4 separate regions of the Homo sapiens genome follow, and all the other regions are linked to region 2. The links are contacts of gene promoters, found by promoter capture Hi-C in blood cells and fetal thymus (Javierre and others, 2016). All regions are on one chromosome and are shown on one strand. Each heading gives the region's core, a stretch centred on a gene start or on the middle of the fragment in contact. The rest is flanking DNA. Distances are from core to core; before and after follow the strand shown. Region 1 overlaps WDR48 (WD repeat domain 48). Region 2 holds the start of SLC25A38 (solute carrier family 25 member 38). Region 3 overlaps TTC21A (tetratricopeptide repeat domain 21A). Region 4 overlaps WDR48 (WD repeat domain 48).

Region 1 (2,700 bases), core at 92-2,591, 320 kb after region 2:
CTGTTGGTGACCTCTGTCTGTTCCTTGTGAAAACAGGGGATCAACTGAAAACAATTACACCTAAGAAAAAGTCAATAAGCTGGCTGGCAGCCAGAAGTAAAACTTTCTAATGTAATGAAATAAACAGTTAAAAATTAACTCAAGATGGACTAAAGACTTAAATGTTAAGACTTAAAACCATAAAAACCCTAGAAGAAAACCTAGGCAATACAATTCAGGACACAGGCATGGGCAAAGACTTCATGACTAAAACACCAAAAGCAATGGCAACAAAAGCCAAAATTGACAAATGAGATCTAATTAAACTAAAGAGCTTATGCACAGCAAAAGAAACTATCATCAGAGTGAACAGGCAACCTACAGAATGGGAGAAAATTTTTGCAATCTACCCATCTGACAAAGGGCTAATATACAGAATCTACAAAGAACTTAAACAAATGTACAACAACAACAACAACAAAAACAACCCCATCAAAAAGTGGGCAAAGGATATGAACAGACACTTCTCAAAAGAAGACATTTCTGCAGCAGACACAAGAAAAAATGCTCATCATCACTGGCCATCAGAGAAATGCAAATCAAAACCACAATGAGATACCATCTCATGCCAGTTAGAGTGGCAGTCATTAAAAAGTCAGGAAACAACAGATGCTGGAGAGGATGTGGAGAAATAGGAATGCTTTTACACTGTTGGTGGGAGTGTAAAGTAGTTCAACCACTGTGGAAGACAGTGTGGCGATTCCTCAAGAATCTACAACTAGAAATACCATTTGACCCGGCCATCCCATTACTGAGTATATACCCAAAGGATTATAAATCATTCTACTATAAAGAAACATGCCCACGTATGTTTATTGCAGCACTATTCACAATAGCAAAGACTTGGAACCAACCCAAATGTCCATCAATGATAGACTGAATTAAGAAAATGTGGCACATATACACCATGGAATACTATGCAGCCATAAAAAAGGATGAGTTCATGTCCTTTGCAGGGACATGGATGAAGCCAGAAACCATCATTCTCAGCAAACTATCACAAGGACAGAAAACCAAACACCACATGTTCTCACTCGTAAGTGGGAGCTGAACAATGAGAACACATGGACACAGGGCAGGGAACATCACACACTGGGGCATGTTGGGGGGTAGGGGGCTGGGGGAGGGATAGCATTAGGAGAAATACCTAATGTAAATAACAAGTTGATGGGTGCAACAAACCAACATGGCACATGTATACTTATGTAACAAACCTGCACGTTGTGCACATGTACCCTAGAACTTGAAGTATAATAATTAAAAAAAATTATCTCAAGTACCTATAGTGATTCTATTAGGAACAATTATACCCTTTCTCCACATCTTAAACCAAAAACGAATTTTTCTATGAATTAAAGACTGAAATTTAATAACCATAAAAATAATTTTTGTTTTTATTTTTTGAGAGAATCTTGCTCTGTCACCCAGGCTGGAAAGCAGTGGCCCGATCTTGGCTTACTACATCCTCTACCTCCCAGGTTCAAGCAATTCTCGTGCCTCAGCCTCCTGAGTAGCTGGGATTACAGGCATATGCCACTGTGCCCAGCTGATTTTTGCATTTTTAGTAGAGATGGTGGTTTCACCATGTTGGCCAGGCTGGGTTTCAAGTGGTCCACCCGCCTCAGCCTCCCAAAGTGCTGGGATTACAGGCGTGAGCCACTGCACCTGGCCAGCATAAAAATAATTTTTAAAAGACAGGTGAATATTTACATAGTCCCTTGCCAGAGAAAACTCTTCCAACATGCCAAGAAAGATGGTAATCTTTACGAAGGAAAAGAGCAATGGTGATCTGGCCAAATACAAGTCAAAACCTTTTCTATGTACAAGAATGTTCACAGCATTGTGGCATTCACAATAATGTTACAAAAGTGGAAACAACCCAAATATCCATCAATGGACAAAACAAATAAAATGTGATGTGTGTGTGTGCATATATATATATATATATGCACACACACACACTGTACTGACACATGCTATAACGTGGATGAACCTTGAAAATGTGCTAAGTGAAAGAAGCCACATATTTTACAAAAGGCCACATATTTTATGACTCTATTTATATATAATGTCTAGGATAGACAAATCCACACAGAAAGTAGATTAGTAATTGCCAGGAGATTGAAGGAGGGAAAAATGAAAAACGGGGAGTAATTGCTAATGAACATAGAGTAATTAAACATTCTGGAGTTAGGTGACCAATAAACAACTTTCCGAATATACAAAAAAATCACTGAATTGTACACTTTGAAAGGGTGCACTTTATGGTATGTGAATTTTATCACAATGTTATTATTTTCTTAAACCTTCTGAATGTCAAAAAGTAACACGAGCAAGACTAAGAGAATAATGAAATAAATATGAAAGAAAGTTTACTCTTAACAAGATTCCTTATAAAATAAGAAAAAGTCAAATTTACCAACAGAAAGAGGGACAGTTACAAAAAGGGACTTTTTAAAAAAGAAATGGCCAAAAACCCCATAAATAATCAAAGACAAAATTAATATGAGATTATTTTACCTATAATACAAGAATTTTTTAAAATAACTGCCATTTTTGTTTCCCCTGAGGATAAATAAACACTTTCTGACAAAAGTTTTAAACTCTTTGAAATGTTCTTTAAAATTCAATTTCCAGAAATTTGTCCTTTAAAAAGGGCCA
Region 2 (2,700 bases), core at 135-2,634:
GTTTCTTTTTAAGGGGAGAAAGAAGAGGGCATAAACAATAATACGCACACGAAATAAGTAGCACATAAGAGTACAAACTGGATCCACAAGCAATTCCTACTGCCCTGAAAAAACTATCCTAAGTCCAATTCACATCTGGAGGCGAGGGCTGGAGAGCCCTGAAAAAGGTAAGCAGGTTTTCAAAGACGTCAACGTAAAGTCGCCACCGCCGCCGTCTCCGCCTTTAAGGATTAAAAAAAAAAATAAAAGCCGCCCCTACCTCGGGCGCAAGACCTCAGAGGGAGAGCTGCGGCAGCTGCAGTGGCCTCAGGCCTTTAGCGTCTAAAGACTGGTTGCACCCCGACTCCACCTACCGGGCAACCACGCCGCCAGCCCCGCCTCCGCCTCCACCAATAGCGGCCCGGCGGCCCGGGCACGATGACCAATCGAACGCCGGAGGAGGCGTGGCGTCGCTGGGGGACCACGCGCCGTCCCAACAGGCTGGAAGGGTGCCGCCACGACTGGCCCCTCCAGGTAGGCCGCCGCCCGCGGGCGCACAGCGCTACCCGGCCAGCTCGCTGCGGCATCAACGGCTTCTCAGCGTCAGCGCTATTATCAGGCCTTGTGACCGTCCCAAATCTGCCCGGGTGCCCTTCCACCTGGCAGCCTACTCGCACCTTGTGGGGGCCGCGCGGGCACACTCCCCGGCACGCGTCCAGTCCAGGCCCCGGCAATTCCGCCCTTTACCGGGACATCGGCCCTACAGCGCCTGCCCCCAGGGCTGGCCTGCAGCTCCTGGCCTCTCCTCACTCCCTGCCCCCTTCTCAATTCCCTTAGTCAGACTCCTCTCCCGCCGCATCCTAAATCCTGAGCGCACCCTGGGGCGCGGAAAAGGGTAGCCGAGCCTTAGCAACGCCCCGAATTCTCCGGCCCGAGCCCGCGGTTCGGACCCCTGCCCTTCCTTCCCCGCAGTGCCCTCACCATAAGCGTTTCCACCGTGTCTCCGACATCTTGGGGTTGCAGCAGCGACGGACGTGAGTTCTGAATCATTGGAGATGAGGCCCGCGAGTCCTCTGGGCCCAGGGTGCCGTCGACGGGCGCTTGGGCCCAGCCCTGGAGGCCTTGAAGAAGGCTAGGGGGTGGCGCTAGCCAGGCGACGCGCTTTAAGCCGCGGGCTCTCTGACGTCTGCGCCTATAAGCACGCAGCCGCCGGGGTTCGGATCCTGCTAGTCCAGGGGCTGCGGGCGCGGAACAATCTTGCTGCGGGAATTACGCGCCGCTCTTCACCCGCGCCGCAGACTCCGCGGCTCTGCTCTCCTGCCCATCCTGCCCTGCTGCAGGCTTCAGCACCGTAGGAGATGAGGTTCTGTGTATCCCGGGGTGGAGGAAGCGCCGGAGGAACTCTGTAGAAGGGGAGATTTCGCTTCCGGGTGGGACGCTTGTCACGTGAGGGTGTTCTGAGTGCCACCTGGTGAAAACGCCCAGAACTGAAGGATCCGCGCTTCCTTGCACCCAGAACTTAATGGAGCGTCTGCAGGGAACTTTGCTTTTGCGTGGAACGTCTGAACGTATTTACAATCCAGACCTGGTCTGCCCAGTAAGGCAGCCACTAGCCAACGTGGGCTATTGATTTATTAATTGATACATTAATTTTAATTATATTAAAACAAGCAGTGTGGAATGCTTTCTCCTTAAACAGGCGTTTTTTTGTTTTGTTGTTTTTTTTTCAGGACCATATTTCCCTTTAAATGCTGAAAATTTAGTGTGGAATTGATATGTACTGTATGCATAAACCACACGCTGGATGTCTAAGACTGGTGAGGTAAAATCTCAATAATTTTTATATGTTGAAATGATATTTTGGATATATTGGGTTAGGTGAAATATTAAAATTAACTTCAGGCCGGGGGCAGTGGCCCAGGCCTGTAATCTCAGCACTTTGTGAGGCCTAGTCTGGAGGATTGCTTGAGGGAGCCAAGGAGTTGGAGACCAGCGTGGACGACAAAGCAAGACCCCGTCTCTAAAACAAATAATAATAACTTCATGTGTTTCTTTTTAAATGTGGCTAGTAAAACATTTAAACTTTAACATGTGGCTCCCATTACATTTCTGTAGGACAGCGCTGGTCTAGTTGGTCAAAATTCTGGTTTATTGCTCACCTGGAATCTGTCAATGGCTTTTTTGGTCTCCCAACTTCCCCTTATGCCTGTCTGGCTGATCCATGGAAAAGCATTACTGCTGGGATCCTGACACTCCTGTTGAAAATGCAGTGGCCCTGGTAATAAAGTCCAAGCTTTTCATAGCAACCTTCGCTACTTTCCACCTTCATTCATCACCCAAGAACTAGATCAGAAAGGAAAGTGACTTAGGGAGCAAGATAATATTTTTTCAGGCTTCATTCCTGTGCTTCTGAGGTACATAGAACAGGAAGGAAAGTGGTCCCAGAGGAGGTTATTCCCAGAAAGGATTAAGGAAAGTATAAACATTAAAAAAAAAAAAAAAATTACAGGCCGGGTGCGGTGGCTCACGCCTGTAATCCCAGCACTTTGGGAGGCCGAGGCGAGCCGATCACGAGGTCAGGAGATCGAGACCATCCTGGCTAACATGGTGAAATCCCGTCTCTGCTAAAAATATAGCCGGGTGTGGTGGCAGGCGCCTGTAGTCCCAGCTACTCGGGAGGCTGAAGCAGGAGAATGGCGTGAACCCAGGAAGTGGAGCTTG
Region 3 (2,700 bases), core at 106-2,605, 260 kb after region 2:
GGGAGAGTGGGACAGACATCCTGACCAGTGGACTTTCCTCTGGCTAACCACTGGGACTCTGCCCCTTGAAGGAGGAAGTAGGGAAGGACTCAACCTGGTGGAAGAACATTCTAGGGAATTTTGCTTTTGTGCTGAGCAGCCAAGTCCTTTTGTCCTTCATGTCCCTGGTTATGGTGGGAAATCATCCAGAGCAGTGCTCCTCTCCCTCCTGCCCCAACACCCAATACACACCTCCTGGATTCTAGCCTCTGGCCAAGGCATGATTCCAGTAATCCTCCTATTATCGCTCTCACTGCCCCGTGGCATGCTTTCACACTCAGCCTCTGGTGACCCTGAGCTCGTCTTTTTTAGTTTTTGTTTTTCCTGGAACTCTTTGGGGAAAGCTGGTCTACTAAATTCTTTAGCTAACCCATCTCTGCCTATGTTTGCTTATGGGTTTCTAGATCTGCTTCGAATTCCCATGTATTTGACACCATTTGCCTTCCATCTTCTAGAAATGTGAAATTCTTCAAAGTTTCTGGTCCACGCTGCTATGTACTCTTTTTTTTTTTTTTCTTTCTTTTTTTGAGGTGGAGTCTCACTCTGTGGCCCAGGCTGCAGTGCAGTGGTGTCATCTCGGCTCATATCAACCTCCATCTCCCGGGTTCAAGTGATTCTCCGGCCTCAGCGTCCCAAATAGCTGGGATTACAGGTGTCCTCCACCACACCTGGCTAATTTTTGTGTGTTTTTAGTAGAGATGGGGTTTCATCATGTTGGCCAGGCTGGTCTCGAATTCCTGACCTCAAATGACCTGCCCACCTCAGCCTCCCAAAGTATTGGGATTACAGGCGTGAGCCATCACGCCTGGCTCATTACCTTTTAAAGATATCTTTCATTATTTTCATGGGATTTGGGGACAGAGGGAAAGCATGGATTTGAGGGGGTCAGCCTGACATGTTGAACCAGAAGTCAAGATAAACTACTCTGATAAATGTGCTATGCAGATGAGGAGCCTGGAGTTTAGAAAGGAGAAGTGACTTGGCCCCAAACACATAGCCCCTCAGAGCCAGGGCAAGAGTCGGCCTGCCTTGAGCACTGGACCACACAACTTCCTCAACCCAAACCAAATACTGCCACTTCAGAGTTCACCACAGACCATGGAATAGGGGGCTTTAAAAAATGCGTAAAATGGAAATGGCACTGTAGAAAGTTCATTTGGCATTTATAGAAAAGATTTTTAAAGTCACCTGGACAGACAGGGAAATATATAATTCTCAGAGCTACTCTTTTTGGTGGTTTTTCAGCTCAGAGCCCTGAAGGAGGGTCTACAGAGGTGAATCTAGAGGCTCTGCATGTGGGGACTGGTGGTGAGTAGAACTGCCTCCAACCCCGGCCTGGGCAGCCTGAGAAGAGGCAGGGCCCACTGAGTATAAGGTTCAGCCTGTCAGTCTTCTGGGGCAGTCAGTGTAGACAGACATTGGAGGTCTGGTGGAGATCAGAGTGACTCTGATCATACCTCTGAGCATTGCTGTGCCTCTTACATCTATACTTGTGGATTCCCAGAAAGATACCCCATCATACATTGTACCCCAAAATTCACATACCCTTCAAGGAGAATGCTTTCCAGCACCTCTCTTCTGGACCCATGGAAGCTGCCCGGTTTGGCTCCCGACACCCATCCCTGAGCCCTGCCACACCTGCATATACCTGTCAAACCAGCCATGCCATCCTTGTCCAGTTTCATGGCTTCTGAATACCACAGCAAGGCCTCTTTCACTTGGTTCTTCAGGATGAAGAGATAGCCCAGTTCTGTGGCCACATGGACATACGAGGGGGTGGCCATGAAGGTGCGCTCGATGAAACTACACACTAGCCCTAGAATCACCTGGTGACTCCCACACTGCAAGAAACAGGAAGGTGGGAATTGGGAAACCAGTCAGTCCAGCCTGTATGAGCAAGGTCATGTCAGAAACGGGGGACACTTTGGTAGGCAGGGCTGGTAGGCCCAGGAGAGCCAAGAGGTACCGTGTGTCTAGGCAGCTGGGTCTGTGTTGCTGTCTGGCTCCCAAGGAACCTCTCACTGGCCACAACTGTGGAACCTGCCTCTAGCCACAGGGTCCTCTGAGGGACCTATCCCCTGTCTGGTCACAGTAATTGGTCTAAGGAGTCACCAAGAGGTTTTTCAAAAATTGAAGCTGAATGTGTCCAGTAATAAGAAGTGGCCCCAAAGGCTGCCATCAGCCATGTTCCCTGCCATGTGTGGAGAACAAGGCAGAGAGAATCAGACATACAGAGGGAGAGATGGTGCCTATGCAACTCCACAGTTCTGGTTCCTGGGGTCCCAGAGTTGCCTTCATTCTTACAGCAACTACTTCTAGTAAATCTTGCTTTGGGGCTGAAGGGTCTGAAAGAGATACAGATTTGTTGGCAACCTGGTCTAGTTGAACCTTCCCTGATGTTTGAGAGGCCTAGGCAGGCCAGCCTTCTCAGGTCACCTCCACAAAAAAGAATATGGGAGATGGGCACCCAGGCACTAGAGGCTAGAGCTGGGTGTGGCTCTGCTGCATAACAGCTGCAATACCACCCGCTTTCCCCAAATAAGGCACAGCCCACTCCAAAAGCACTTTCAGACCCCGTCTCCCTGATCTTCATGGCATCTCTGAGGGGGCACCTAGGCTAAGGATGTAGAACCCACATGTCACAGTTATCAGCCAGAGGCA
Region 4 (2,700 bases), core at 45-2,544, 300 kb after region 2:
ACAAAGAGAAGCCTTGACAGAATCCCCTTAACTTTCTCTATCATTCTCCCTGGTGCAAGGAAAACGGTGTCCCTTCTGACTGTGCTCCGGTCCCCCTCACCTCTTGCTTCTTGGGATGACCTTGTATTGTCATCTACCCATGAATGTCTCTACTGGCTTCTTCCCAGGAGCAATGAAATATGCTCAAATTTCTTACATCTGAAAAATACCCAAATATCCAAACAAAACCAAACAAAATCAAAAGCTTCCTTTGGCCCTCTGACTCCTACATCTTCTCTAGTTTCCGCCGCTTCCTGCCTACCCCTCCAATCAAATTTCTTCAAAGATTATCCAGTCAAATTTTCTGTTTCTTCACCTTCAAATCACTACTCAACTCACTCTACCTGGCTTTTGCCCTTAAGACTCTACCCAGAGGCCACCCTCTTTATTTAAATCCATGATGTTAGTCACATCTTAAATCAACTCACAGCAGGTTAATGCCACTAACCGCAAGCTTCTTCTTGAAACACTCAATTAGTTCTGGAGCTGCCACTGGCTCTTCATTTTCTTACTCCCCCGCAACTTTTTAAAATCATATACTATTGTGGCTTCCTCTTTTCCCAACATCCCTGAAAGACTGATGACTTAGTTTCTTCTCAGTCTACATATGTCCCTTGGAAACTCTGACATTTCCTATGACATCAAACTGTAACCCACAAGCTGATGACTGCTGAGCCTTTTTCTCCAGCCCAGTTCTTTAACTGTGCATGAGACTGTACAGCTGTCTGCCCACCAAACACCTCTATTCAGATATCCCACAGAAACTCAAATTCAACATCTTTCTCAGCATGTCCTTTTCTCCTGATAACCTGTTTTTCATCTTACATTCCCTACATCACTTCCATTCACCAAACTGGACAATCAAGAAATCTGGGACTCATTCTTGCTTTTTCCTTTCCTCATACTCCTTTCATTAAAGTATCACTCCTGTGGGCAGGCACGGTTGCTCATGCCTGTAATCTCAGCACTGTGGGAGGCCAAGACGGGCAGATCATGAGGCCAGGAGATCGAGACCATCCTGGCCAACAAGGAGAAACGCTGTCTCTACTAAAAATACAAAAATTAGCCCGATGTGGTGGTGCATGCCTGTAATCCCAGCTACTCGGGAGGCTGAGGCAGGAGAATCGCTTGAACCAGGGAGTCAGAGGTTGCAGTGAGCTGAGGTTGCGCCACTGCACTCCAGCCGGGGCAACAGAATGAGACTCCGTATCAAAAAAAAAAGAAAAAAAAAAGTATCACTCTTGTTCACAGGCCTAAATATTTTCCTAATCATTCGATTTTTTCCATCCCCCTTGTTCCCACCCTAGTCTAGACAAATATCACCTTTCACCTGTATTAGTGCAACAGCCTCCTATTATGTACCAGACACTGTGCTTCTCAACATCACCAATAATAGGCACCCCCGACATTTTAGGAATGAAGAAACCATTTTAGAGATGTTCCCTAGCATATTCCGTAGATCACTTGGCGAGTATTTGGCACAGCCAAGGTTAGAATGCAGCTCTGTCCAACTCCCAAGCCAATGTTCCTAAAAAACTCCTGACTGTCCCACACTGTTTAGCCACGTCTATTACACCAGATCATTTGATATCAAAACTTCAAGGTCTAGATATGGGAAGCTGCTAGGTACACAGAAATGCCAATCATGATGTATGCTGGCCCCATCTAAGTAGAAGTACCTCCCATTCAGACAGCAGGATTCTACTCAGGCCTCAGTTAACCAGACCAAGAGTGGGCAACAGACCCATATACAGAAAACAGATAGGTCAACTCTCAAAGAGGAGCTGGCCTGATCAGATTCTCTTGGGTATTCTGGAGACAATTAGGTCCTGGGCAGCATGAGGCGAAGTCCAGCCACAGGACAGAGTTAGGGACACATTTGTGGTAGAGTATCAAAGTGAAGAATCAATAATTTCTGCTGATGAGTTTCTTAGGGCTGTTCTGGATCCTGCCAGTCCCCAAGAGAACCCTCTCTGAAATCAATGTGTTTCTACCCCCACCCCCAACAGGCATCTCTCTATTGTAGAGAAAAACTAATCAGATTTTTGAAGCTTGCCGCAACTAAACTTTCTACTCAAAGAACTAAAGCCTCTCATTCTGAAGCAATGCTCACCAAACAACTGTTTCATAATGGACTTCCCACATAGATGTCCCACAGGGAGCAAAAATGGTAGTCAAGCCAAGGTTTCTGTTCAGTGACAGTCCCTTTTTCCTAGCAAGAAACTTGCCTGTCTTATTCTTTAGTTCATTAAGTGAATCTCTTTTCTTTATAACCAGGAGCTTAACCAAAATACCAGCTGTTTTCAATTCTTCCTTTATAATAAGCTCAACACCTGTCTCGTCCTTTATTTTTATTTATTTATTTAACCTTTCCTATGGTGCTCATGTCTCTTCCTTTAGATCTCCAATCATGACGTCTTCCAGCTTTCAGTTTCCCATTACATACACTAACAACTACTGCCCTCAACATGAGATTTTCCTGCTCTAAAATTATCTAAGGTTCTTCTAGGAGTACAAAAGAAAGGCCAACTTTGGGTCCTGCAGCTTAAGGCTCTTTGGGAAATGACCTAAATGTCATTTTTCAATCTTACACCCCTGTTACTTCCTTATATTTACTCTGGTCTCCAAATAAACAAAACTGCTCACCTTGCCCCAAATAAG

The links. The method cuts DNA at HindIII sites, captures the fragments that hold promoters and counts their contacts. A CHiCAGO score of 5 or more calls a contact.
Region 1: a fragment that was not itself captured here is called in contact with the fragment with the promoter of SLC25A38 in region 2 in 6 of 17 cell types (total B cells, fetal thymus, total CD4 T cells and 3 more); the score reaches 6.7 in total B cells.
Region 3: a fragment that was not itself captured here is called in contact with the fragment with the promoter of SLC25A38 in region 2 in 2 of 17 cell types (activated CD4 T cells and total CD8 T cells); the score reaches 9.0 in activated CD4 T cells.
Region 4: a contact is called between a fragment that was not itself captured here and the fragment with the promoter of SLC25A38 in region 2, in 3 of 17 cell types (naive CD8 T cells, total CD8 T cells and activated CD4 T cells). The highest score is 7.5, in naive CD8 T cells.

Annotation. Positions count from the first base shown.
Region 1 is chr3:39,059,707-39,062,406 of GRCh38, reverse strand. All of the region lies in intron 1 of WDR48 (WD repeat domain 48), which reads right to left. Among named protein-coding and RNA genes, the nearest start is that of WDR48, 9.0 kb to the right of the region's middle. The HindIII fragment of the contact is 9,058 bases long and covers 1-2,700 here.
Region 2 is chr3:39,382,054-39,384,753 of GRCh38, reverse strand. SLC25A38 (solute carrier family 25 member 38) reads right to left here and starts at 1,384. Exons shown (of 7, transcript NM_017875.4): 1 at 961-1,384. The coding sequence starts at 1,029. LOC105377644 (a long non-coding RNA gene) reads left to right here and starts at 429. Exons shown (of 3, transcript XR_007096252.1): 1 at 429-513; 2 at 1,710-1,801. RefSeq lists enhancers at 176-245, 716-765, 776-875, 896-1,075 and a silencer at 336-485. The HindIII fragment of the contact is 12,754 bases long and covers 1-2,274 here.
Region 3 is chr3:39,120,177-39,122,876 of GRCh38, reverse strand. It overlaps TTC21A (tetratricopeptide repeat domain 21A), which reads right to left. Exons shown (of 29, transcript NM_001366900.1): 9 at 1,688-1,880. Among named protein-coding and RNA genes, the nearest start is that of TTC21A, 14 kb to the right of the region's middle. The HindIII fragment of the contact is 4,421 bases long and covers 1-2,700 here.
Region 4 is chr3:39,080,850-39,083,549 of GRCh38, reverse strand. The region is part of intron 11 of WDR48 (WD repeat domain 48); the gene reads right to left. Among named protein-coding and RNA genes, the nearest start is that of GORASP1, 25 kb to the left of the region's middle. The HindIII fragment of the contact is 1,597 bases long and covers 496-2,092 here.